Linked DNA regions of Homo sapiens: all the other regions are linked to region 2. The links are contacts of gene promoters, found by promoter capture Hi-C in human tissues and cell types (Jung and others, 2019). All regions are on one chromosome and are shown on one strand. Each heading gives the region's core, a stretch centred on a gene start or on the middle of the fragment in contact. The rest is flanking DNA. Distances are from core to core; before and after follow the strand shown. Region 1 overlaps PTN (pleiotrophin). Region 2 holds the start of PTN (pleiotrophin). Region 3 overlaps DGKI (diacylglycerol kinase iota).

Evidence for each region. Contacts are between HindIII fragments. The study calls those that stand out against the background at their distance.
Region 1: a contact is called between a fragment that was not itself captured here and the fragment with the promoter of PTN in region 2, in 4 of the 25 tissues and cell types used here (bladder, dorsolateral prefrontal cortex, heart right ventricle and 1 more).
Region 3: a fragment that was not itself captured here is called in contact with the fragment with the promoter of PTN in region 2 in 2 of the 25 tissues and cell types used here (hippocampus and stomach).

The regions. Positions count from the first base shown.
Region 1 is chr7:137,246,875-137,250,606 of GRCh38, forward strand. The region is part of intron 4 of PTN (pleiotrophin); the gene reads right to left. Among named protein-coding and RNA genes, the nearest start is that of PTN, 95 kb to the right of the region's middle. The HindIII fragment of the contact is 7,666 bases long and covers 1-3,732 here.
Region 2 is chr7:137,341,848-137,345,729 of GRCh38, forward strand. It overlaps PTN (pleiotrophin), which reads right to left and starts at 1,886. Exons shown (of 5, transcript NM_002825.7): 1 at 1,592-1,886. RefSeq lists promoters at 1,680-3,844, 1,680-2,425 and a cis regulatory region at 2,429-2,438. The HindIII fragment of the contact is 6,839 bases long and covers 1-3,882 here.
Region 3 is chr7:137,418,798-137,422,897 of GRCh38, forward strand. The region is part of intron 28 of DGKI (diacylglycerol kinase iota); the gene reads right to left. Among named protein-coding and RNA genes, the nearest start is that of PTN, 77 kb to the left of the region's middle. The HindIII fragment of the contact is 3,451 bases long and covers 662-4,100 here.

The DNA.
Region 1 (3,732 bases), core at 1,099-3,598, 95 kb before region 2:
GCAAGCTGTGAAACCTCAAATGAGTTGCCTAACATTTCTGAGCCTATGCTTTTTCATATATAAAGTAGGATAAATAAAATGTATGCTTAAAGTTGCTTTAAGGCTTAAATTAAATGACTAGGAGCTCCTACCCCAGTGTCCAATTCAAAATTAGTGAGTTCCCTACTTCTATCTCCTTCACATATTGAATTAACATAAGAAAAAATGTTGATGATGTACTCTTTCCTGAAGGAAGAAAATAATTTATAAATGCATCATTTTGAGAAAAGTTTAGTTAAATGACTACTGCAGCTTCCACCCAAAATAAAGGGAATCAGTATATTGAAAAGATATCTGTACCCCTATGTTTGTTGCAGCACTGTCTATGATAGCTAAGATTTGGAAGCAACGTAAGTGGCCATCAACGGATGAACAGATAAAGAAAATGTGGTACATATACATAACGGAGTACAATTCAGCCATTAAAATGAATGAGATTCAGTCATTTGCAACAACATGGATAGAAATGGAGATCATTAGGTTAAGTAAAATAAGACAGGCACAGAAAGAGAAACATTGCGTGTACTCACTTATTTGTGGGATCTAAAATCGAAACAAACTCAAGGACATAGAGAGTAGAAGGATGGTTAACAGAGGTTGGGAAGGGTAGTGATGGGTGGTTGGGATGGTTAATGGGTACAAAAAAATAGAAAGAATGAATAAGACCTACTATTTGATAGCACAACAGGGTGACTATATAGTCAATAATAAGTGTATATTTTAAAATAACGCAAAGAGTGTGATTAGGTTGTTTGTTACTCCAAGGATAAATGCTTGAGGGGATGGACACTGCATTCTCCATAATATGCTTATTTCATATTGCAGGCCTGTATCAAAACATCTCATGTACCACATAAATATATACACCTACCACATATCCACAAAAATTAAAAAGAAAAAAGACAACATTCACCTTCTCCTATTTCAAAGGAAATTAAAACCCATGGAGGTTAGTTCATACCCCTTTGTGATTTAGGTGAGAAATCAGCAGAATACAAAAGATGACATGAATTTAGAGTTAGACAAATCTTGGCACTGTCATTTATTAGAGATATACTCCTGGTCAAGTAAATTAACCAGTGTTCCTCAGTTTCCTTTATAATAATACCCACCCGCAAGGATATATGGGACTTTATAAGTTACCATATGGAAAACACCTAGAGCAATGTATAGAGTAGAAACTGAATAATGATAATGATAGTATAGATTCCATTCATTACTATTTGCTTTCCCATTGATTAGTAGAATGTAAGCTATCTTAAAATTAGAGACGTGCAAAGGAAAAGCTATAATATCTATCCAAGTTTATTTGAGAAAAATAGTACAAAAATAAATACAACTTACATATGCCACTCGTTACATTTTGGTTTAAACTAGGAAAAATATGCCATGGAATGTGTGTGTGTGTGTGAGTGTGTCTGTGTCCCCTACAAAGATTTTATATCTGACACATCTCCCTGGTTCAACTCCTAAAATAAGAATATTCTTTTTTCCAGGCACAGTGGCTCATGCCTTTAATCCCAGCACTTTGGGAGGCCAAGGCGGGTGTATCATTTGAGGTCTGGAGTTCAAGACCAGCCTGACCAACATGATGAAATGCTGTCTCTACTAAAAAGACAGAAAAATTAGCTGGGCGCATGCCCATAATCCCAGCTACTCAGGAGGCTGAGGCAGGAGAATCACTTGAACCCAGGAGGCGGAGTTTGCAGTGGGCCGAGATCGCCTCACTGCCCTCCAGCACGGGTGACAGAGTGAGACTCTGTATCAAAAAGAAAAAAGAAATCATTCTTTTTGCAGAGTGTCTCAGTGCCAAACAGCATTTATAAGACTCTCCACTGCTGAGATGGAAAAGATTGGTTAGTTATAACAAAGGTATATTATACACAAAGGGAAGGATGAATTTTAATGACCTGTAAATTGCATAACTGGTAGTTTGAAACATAGAATCACTCATAGTAATCATATTTTCAATTAATTATATCAATTAATTATATACCATAATTTATTTACGTATGAATATTACAGAATGTCTATCCACTTGAAATATTTTTAGTGTCATTTTTTCAAGCTGAAAGCCTGAAACAAACTTAACCTTCATTACATGTTATTAGATGAGATACTGTATAAAGGTGAAATATACACCAGTTCAGGTAAAAGGAAGACTTCACTTATTTCCTAAATATCGTTTAGGGTTCTATCTTAATCATGTTCCCTGCTGTGTCCCATTTATTCCAAACTTTTCAACATTTTATGTGTTCACCCAGCCCCACCATCTTCCACCTAATCATGTCCCCACTTTTTCTCCCTTATTATAAAGTTGAATTTTCTCTTTCCCATAGGAAAGAACAGGACAGTGCACGTGTGTGTGTGTGTGTGTGTGTGTGTGTGTGTGTTACATGTGTATGCATGTGTGTGTGGTCTCTTGTCAATGGATTCCATACTAGAGCAGTAGTTCTCAATTTTGGCTGCATCATGAAACCTTCTGAGATGCATTCACAATTTTTAAACTACTGATGCTGATTGGGTTAGTCTGTGCTATACTTGGGCACTGGGAGTTTTGCAAGTTCCCACAGAATATTCTAATGTGAAGCCCAGGTTGAGCATCACTGTGCTAGAATGTGGAAGCTTCTTTAATTTCTTTTCCTTTCAATTCTGTATTTATGCTGAATATTTTGGTTCTACAGCTGGACTAAAAATAAATTATTTTGACTACAGTAACTCTGAGTTTTGCCATTTTTGGAAATGTTTCACTTGGTAGATAGGGCACTGATTTTGCTTAGATTTATGTGGTTGTCTCTGGACAAATGACATTTGGGAAGTCTGCATAAGTACTCACTGCAGTCACTCCAGCCCTGCTTCATGCCTTCCAAAAACCATATGACAACAGGCAGAGATTTCCATGATCTGGAAAGGGCAGCCTGAACCCTAGACTCACCACCTGCAGGTCCAGCCTGTACCTGGCCATCCTGAAGTTGGAGATAACTATTTCTATGGACAACTCCAGCAGTGGCCAAAAAGCCAGGCCTGTGAAAAATAAAGTCCTTTCTGGCCACCAGCAGGAAACCAGCCAATCTCCATCACCTTCTGCAGATTTTTTTTTTCTACTTTTATTTATTATGAGCATTTCTTACATGGTCATTTTTCTGAATCTCTCCTTACAATTTCTCTGGCAGTATGAATTTTCAGGACCACCTTAGAGTTAAAATATATGAGTAGAGGCCAAGAAGGTATTTGAATTTAGAGTTCATTGAGTCCCATTGTATTAGTTGGCTATAGCTCCTATAACAAAGTACCACAGAGTTGGTGGCTTAAACAACAGAAATTTATTTATTTATTGTCTTGCAGTTCTGGAAGCTACAAGCCTAAGATCAAGGCATCTGTAGGGCTGATTTCTTCTGAAGGTTCTCCCTATGGCTTGTAGATGGCATTCTTCTCCCTCTGTCTTCACACAGTCTTCTCTCTATGTATTTCTGTGTCCTAATCTCCCTTCTTATAAACACACCAGCTGCACTGGATTAGGGCCTACCCTTGTGACTGCATTTTATCTCAATTACCTCTTTAAAGACCCTGTCTCCAATACAGTGACATTGTGAGGGGGTTAAAACTTCAGCATATGAATTTGGGAAAACACAATTCAGACAATAACATCCATGATGAAAGAGTTTATTTCCCTCAGTTGGGATCCTTGTATGT
Region 2 (3,882 bases), core at 636-3,135:
GAGTTTTTTTTAAATAATATAATTTTTTAAAATCTCATCTTCTAATTTAAATGAAAAAGTACAAATATTGCCAGTCTGAAATAACTCATGTCCCAAAGGAAGAAAAAAATATTCATTCTAATTTCCTCTGAATTTAACTGGACTATATTTTTTAAACGACTTGGCCTTTAAAGTGCATAATTTACTTAAAAGGAAACATAATGAAGATGGAAAATACAGCTTTATTTTCTGTGTTGGGAGACTTCTCTTTTGTTTCATTGTCATTAACTTTCAATATTTCTACATATCAATGCATTCCCGGATAATTAAGGGGCTAAAATGGGCCCTGCTGTTTCATCAATTCCACATTTGCCTAGGATCATAAAATGTTTCATTATGTTATTAGTCCAGAGCTCTTTTTGGTGATTTCTAAATCTCCTCCCAGACCCCTCTCTCTAGCACACACACACGCACATGCACACGCACACACACACATCACCCCTTTCTCAAGCTGCTAAAGCAAAATGCCTGATAACTCTTAAAATGAGAGATGCTCAAGGACCGCAGCTTTAATATTTTCTCCTCTTAGCACCCCTACCCCTCCTATTTTCTGAATGTGTCCCCAAACTTACAAAGCAGCTCTTAACAGACACAAGGGTGAGTTAACACTAGAGTGTATATAAACTGCATGTGTGTGTTCCTGTGTGTGTGTGTGTGTGTGTTGTGTCACATTATGTCATGGAGAAAGGGGTGTGTGTGTATGGAGAGGAGAGAGGAGGTTTCACTTTCCATCTATTAAGAAAGGAGTTGAATACATTCCTCTCAAAAAATGTTTTCTTAACTTATTAGAAACAACAACTCAGAAACTCTAAATATCTAGTAAATTAGTAACAAATATATCCTAAATTTATGTGGGTCAAATTAAAAGTTTAAGGGTCTATGTACTGGGCAGTTCTTTAAATTTGCATTCAAATGAGAGATGGGACTCCAGGTGTGTCTTCTAAACTTTGGACCTAACCATTTCTGGAACCATTCCTGGGCTGTCAGGTGGGAAGACGGGTGCCAGTAGTTCCGTGAGAGACGTTTCATGTCAGCTAGCACTGGGAGGAACAAGCCCCCACAGCTTACCTAGAAATGCCAGCTAAGAGTCATGGGCTGACAGGCTCTGGGGCAATCAGAGAATCAGAGAGAGGCTGGGAAAATGAGAGCTGCTTGTTCAGGCTGCCTTACTTTCTTTGCACCTACCCAGCCAGAGACACACCTACTAAAGCTCCAGGTTTTACAAAAAGCAAAGATGCACTCTCCAGCCCACCCTGTCTTGCTCTCCAGCTGGTAGCTGGAACACGGTCCAAATACATGCTTAACATCACAAAAACTTCTTTCCTTTCACTTACCTAAGCACACCCGAACTAACCTAACCTGAAACCCCAAAAATATGCCTCCCTTGGCCTCTGGAGCAAGTCAGTTTTGAAAGCAGTCCTATCAGCAAAGACACCAGGCAGCCTCTCTCACCCCTACCACCATCATCTGCTGGCACCCAGAAAAGTGGCACAGGGTGAAGGCAAACTCGATCGAAGAGCCCTCCGAGAAATCGTACGTTCCTCTCACTTACTTTGAGTTGGAAACGTCCTCTCTGGCGCTCAGTCTGCCTTTGTTGCAAGGGGCGAGGTTGCTACCGCTGAGTCCAGGTACCCGGCTCGCTGCAGCTCCTGCTTGGGCCGCTGCTGCTCTCCCCGCCTTCTGGACGGATGACTCACTGGTCTCTTTCTTCCCCTCTCTCCACTTTGGATTTTCCTCTGCTCTGGGGCTCTCTTGGCGGGATTTTTGGACTGGAAGGCGGGGAACCTGATCCTGCCTTTGACTCAATTACGCCCTGACAGGGAGGGAACGGAAGGGAAATGGAGAATGGGAGGGATGAGAGGAGCGGGCCAGGAGGACGAAGGCTGGGCGAGGGAGGGAGAGCGCTTTGCACTCGAGAGCTGATTGGGAAGCTTATTAAAAGCAGAATACTCCAGGGGCAGTCTCTCCCTGCGGAGCAAGAAAACGGATTTGAACCAAGAGGCCATGAGATGGTACCTTGTTTTGTTTTTAGCAGAGACGAAACACAACATTTCTTTTCCAAACTCCACCCATGATCTATTCTTCAGATGAGTGCAAAGCCACTTTGCCAAATAGGATATTTTAAATGGACAATTGATGGCATTTTAGGTTACATTTTTGGCCCCCCACAATCCTTTAATGATATTCAGAATGGAAAAGCACTCTCTTCAAACCAGCCTCTTCTTCCACCCACGAAAGCCCTCTCTAAACACAGAGACAGTAAGGTGTCAGTCACATCTCACCTGCAAAGCACAAAATGTACAAAGTACTTTTTCTCAATTGTCACAAAGAGTGACAGACGTCTCAAAGTTCCCAATTAAGTGCTACTTACCTTTAGGGAGAGCTCTTTCCTTTTTTGGTTTCCTTGGTGCCTTTAGCAACCTATTTAGTAACATGCCTTTGACACCCAAGAATTTAGAGGATTCGTCAAAGTAGCTCAAACTCTGAGGTTTGTAAAACTTGGAGGCTGGGCTTTGCGTCTCTGGAATTGTCATTTCATTCAATACAGGAAAGACGCTAAGGCAATGCATAGGTAAATATTTATGATAAAGATGAGATAAAAGTATTGTGTAAAAGGATTAAGATGTATTATACAAATTCACCCAAACATTTTCGAAATGTAAATTTCGAGATTTTCTGCCACTTATCAGCTTTTCCTGCTCCGTGGCTAGCTCCTTTTACCTACTTTTACCTTTACTGGTCAGCTTATCATTTGATGGCGTCCTTCCCAAATTGGTTGTAAAATAGACCACATTTTTCATAATTCTGAGGTTACATCCCTTCATTTCAATTTGACAAATATTTATTAAGCAATTTGTTTACTTAGAACTATCCTTAAATCCCCAAATTAGAAGCATTGTCTTGTGGCAAGTAGTTTTTAGGGACTTGGGGCTCTTCTATTGACAGCTACCTGTAGAAATGTCCCTTGGAGAAGTTGACTGGAGCCAGACGTGGCTCTACAAACTCAATCAAGCAGTCAATCAAGCTTTTCAAAAGGAAAGGCATCAGAGATGCACTTACACACCTACAATTTATCCCCCTTCCCAAACTCTTCATATACATACCACATACAATTCTCAAATGAAATAACTAAATAAGGAAGCTGTGTTCCTTTCTCCTACACACAGGCTTCAGGTTACCTGTTTTCCTTTTGTGATTCCACTTCTGTGTGAAGCAAGCAGTGCTTGTTTTAATCAGATTTCACCTGTATAAAGTGTGGAGAAACGCACATTAGCATTTTTTTTTGGCATTTTTCCCAGTCCCTTTACCAAAAAAGATATCTCAGCATTCTATTAACACTCCATAGGGGCAAAGTTTCTAAGGCATTGAACAAAGAGCTATCCATTTTCTTTCTGTTCTTCAGCTTTATGTTAACATATACAAATGTAACATACAGCTAGCTACCAGTTAGGTGAACAATGCTGGCTTGATTGAGGTGTTCTCTATAGGGCTGATAAAGTAAGCATGAGATTCCCATGATTTCTACTCAATTACATATGTTACACCAAAAATATCACCCTTTATTCAGATGGGTATATACTAAAATTGTATACATCAGTGATTATCAATTGGGAGCAGTTTTGCCCTCCAGGAAAAGGGAATAATGTCTGGAGGTAGTCTTGGTTGTCGCAACTTGGTGGAAGGGGTTGCTCTGGATCTAGTGGGTAGAAGCCGGGGATGCTGTAAAACATCATACAATGCATAGGACAGCCTTTGTTACCAGAAAGCGGTCCCGGTCCAGACCCCAAGAGAGGGTTCTTGGATCTCAGTTGCAAGAAAGAATTCAGGGCAAGTTCATAGAGT
Region 3 (4,100 bases), core at 1,137-3,636, 77 kb after region 2:
GAAAAACATCAGTTGATTCACTGGGAATCATAAATGCATCTAGCTTTGCCAAGTTCTGTGAACTTTTACTCCTAAATATTTTCATGTGCAAAGCAAGAGTCACAACCCTAAACTATTTCTTGAGGAGTAATAATACTCTACTTTCTAGCGTGTATTTGGTCTTAGTCTAACCTTTCATTTCATAGATGAGGAAAGTAGGGCTTGAGATCTGAACTGACCTTTGCAGGATCACACAGATTACTTAGCAATCCAGCTGAGAGACAAAGGACTCTTGTTTCATTTACTTGCCTCCCCCCTTCCCCAGGTCTGAGTTTCTTCCACTATATGATGCTGTTTCTCCTCTGTTTAACTTGGAGCAGGACAGCCAAAAATGAAAATAACCCCCGGAAAAAGTTTCATGAATGCATGACATACAAAATGAAGTTAAAGTAAATTTACAGTTTTAAGGCCCAACTTTTTGTGTGTGCCAACAGAGACAAAATCCATCGCAAATGTGACACAAATAATTCTCTTGATCTTATCATGACTGAAGTCTTCATAGTTTGCCTTTATTCAATCCGTTACTTCTTGCGTGGCTACCAGATAACTTATACCATAGCTGCCCCATAGCTCACTCTCTGAGATACATATTTCTGCATAGCCTTTGCTGTATTTACCTTATCAGAAACATTCTGTCCAATTTTTCTATTTTGTGAGCAGCCAGCCATGGTACATGAGCAACAAACTGTGAAGGCTTAGCTCGCAAAAAAATGAAATTTAGTATAATCATCAAACACAGCAAAGGTAATCTAACACGAATTCACAGGTATGGATGACCGCTGTGAATTATGCTAATGAGGCATAAATGGGAAGCAGCTCAAGAAAAATGACTGTAATTAATATTATTCTACATAGGCATACTGAATAAGTCCAAGATGAGGTGAGAAAAAGAATGAATTATATAAATTTCTAAAGACCTCTGCATTTTTATCTAGGCCTAGAGGACTTTTTCACAATCAGTAAAAAGACATGTGACAAATTATTTGTTATAATAAAAGTTAAACTACTGAAGGTTTTTAACATATTAGAACAGATTTAAGATTATTCTTCTAATGACATGCAACTCTGTATCAACTATCTATTATTGCATGGTAAAGTATATGACTTAAAACCCAATTATTTCTTTTGCTCAAAAATCTGCATTTGGGGCAGCGTTCTGCAGAGATAGTTTGTCTTTGTTATACCTGGCAGCAGTTGGAGCTGCTCCACTAAGAGCTGAAAGATCCAGTTCAAATATGATCAGACACATGGCTAGTAACTGGGTACTGGTATCGGCTAGGAGCCTTGGATCCTCTCATGTGGGATTCCTGGGCTTCCCGTGTGCTTCTTGGGCTTTCTTATAAGATGGTGGCTGGGTTCCAAAAGCAACCATCCCAAGAGAGCCCAGTGATCAACTCACCTCGCCTTGGAAATCCCAAGGTATCATTCCTGCTGAAGTCCACGTTTGCGCATATACAAGGAGAGAGAGCGTAGATCCCACATTTCAATGGAAAGAGCATCAAAGTCACATTGCAAGATGAGTGTGTAGGTGGGAGAAAATGCCATGGCTATTTTTGAAAAGTACAAACTGTCACATCATATACTTGAATTGTGATGTGCTTTGAGTCGGAGGGCTGGTGTTGACTTGTCAGTGTTGGGAAAGGGGTATAATCAACAGTCTTTTTACCTATGTCACTTATGGGAATGTGTTATGCATACAATGTCATCTGGTTTATGTCATGAGTATCTTGGCCTAAAAATTAAAAAGGATGAAAACTGCTTTTCTGGAGGAACAGATTTTTGGAGAAGAAAAAAAAAAAGAAAAGCAGGGGGAAGACCAGGCAATGGGTGCTTGTTAGATTGAATTAAAAATTCTGTCTTAGGTGTGTCTGTCCTTAATCTCTCATTAATAATCAGATGTGACCGAGCACTGTGGCCCACGCCTGTAATCCCAGCACTTTGGGAGGCCGAGGCAGGTGAATCACCTGAGGTCAGGAGTTTGAGATCAGCCTGGCCAACGTGGTACAAACTTGTCTCTGCTAAAAATACAAAAATTAGCTGGGCATGACGGTGGAAGCCTGTAGTCCCAGCTACTTGGGAGGCTAAGACAAGAGAATTGCTTGAACCCAGGAGGCGGAGGTTGCAGTGAGCCGAGATCACGCCACTGCACTCCAGCCTGAGTGACAGAGTGAGATTCCGTCTCAATAAAAAAGAAAAAGAAAAAGAAAAAAAAATCAGATGTAAGAGAAGAGACTCTCCCAATCTCCTCCCCTTTTTCCTCCTTCAAACACTCACTGAATTCTAGGTTTATACCCCTCACACTCCACCTACCAGCTTCTCCTCCACTGCTGAAACATGGTGCAGAGCACACATCTCACATGGCTACCTTCTCATCATCCCTGGGATTAATCCATCAGTGGCATCAAAAGGCCATTAGATACTACGGTGGCTTTATATTCAAACACCACCTGTGCCAAATCCATCTTAGATTGTGTAACCATAGATGGGAGACAAAAATAGGTTTTGTTTCTCTCTAATGACAGAATTAATCCCCCAATTCAATTAATTCCTGCTAATTAAATGCATGAATATATATTGGTTCTTTCCATCTGCTGTGGCAATCCTTTTGAAGCTCCTATTAGCATGGAAGAGATTTCTGTTTGGAGAAAAAACAAACAGCCTCCGTCTAGTGTTCCCTCCTGGCAGAAAACCTCTACCTTGCTGCCAGAGGATCAGGATGCACTCCCTTCAAAAGCAGTTCGTTCCACTTCTTTTATTCACCACTGGAATTGGCTATAAACAGCACAGGGACCAGATGTCTCTCCAAAGCATCCCATTTGCTTATCTGTTGTTGTGAAATTGTTTAATTGTTTCACATGTCTAAGTTCCACTTCTGCGATTAAGTCATAAGCATGAGGACACTTTTTTCTCTTTGTTTTATCCACACTATATCTTTCACTGAAATCTCTATGGGACAGAAAATACATGAAGTGCTTAATAAATAGTTGGTTGATCCTTTCGACCTGGTGATTCAGCCGGCTATCATTTCAATACACTTTAAAATCTGGATTGAGGAAGACATTCTAGGGAGTGGAAGAAAGCTCACCTTACTGGCCCCTGCTACACCTTGCAATCAATTTTGGAGACACAGATATCTTCAAATCTCTTTGTAAATCTCATGGTGTTTGTTAGTTGCATCTAGTAAACACAGCAAAACACCACTGCAACTATCTCATGAGATCAGAAATGTTTATGAGTCAACTCAGAGCTGTATATCAGCAATGATACTTGTTACTTCCTAGAACATTGATAGTAACGCTTAGATAAGTGTTAAAGCAAACTTCGTGGGTGAATTAATTTGCTTTGAGCACTGGGTTAGTGAAAACAAGCTCATGGGTTACAGGGCCAATAGACTCACACTCTTCCAGAATCACAGCATGTCACTTTCAACCTGCTGTGTAACATACATGACGCCAGTCACAAAGGACCAGCAAAGGGTCTTAAAATACCTTCTGGAAAATCTCTATAACTCAATATCAATTCTTTCTCTAGCAATAAATTAATATCATCACCTTTGGATGTAATGGGAAAACATATTTTTATATAGTACCACCATCTAAAGTAATATACAGCTATTCCCTTAAAACTAGAAAAATATAAATTCATTTCTAACATCAATATTATAGAATCCTATTTACGGTTTTGTTAGACAAACATTAAGCTTTCAAAAAAAACCAGGGAGGAGTTTTCATATTTGTAAAGCATTTTCTTTTTCTTTTCTTTTTTTTTTTTTTTTTTTTTTTTTTTGAGATGGAGTCTTGCACTCTCACCCAGACTGGAGTGCAGTGGCGCCATCTCAGCTCACTGCAAGCTCTGCCTCCCGGGTTCACGCAATTCTCCTGCCTCAGCCTCTCGAGTAGCTGGGACTACAGGCGCCCGCCACCACACCTGGCTAATTTTTTGTATTTTTAGTAGAGACGGGTTTTAACCATGTTAGCCAGGATGGTCTCGATCTCCTGACCTAGTGATCCACCCGCCTCAGCCTCCCAAAGTGCTGGGATTACAGGCGTGAGCCACCGCGC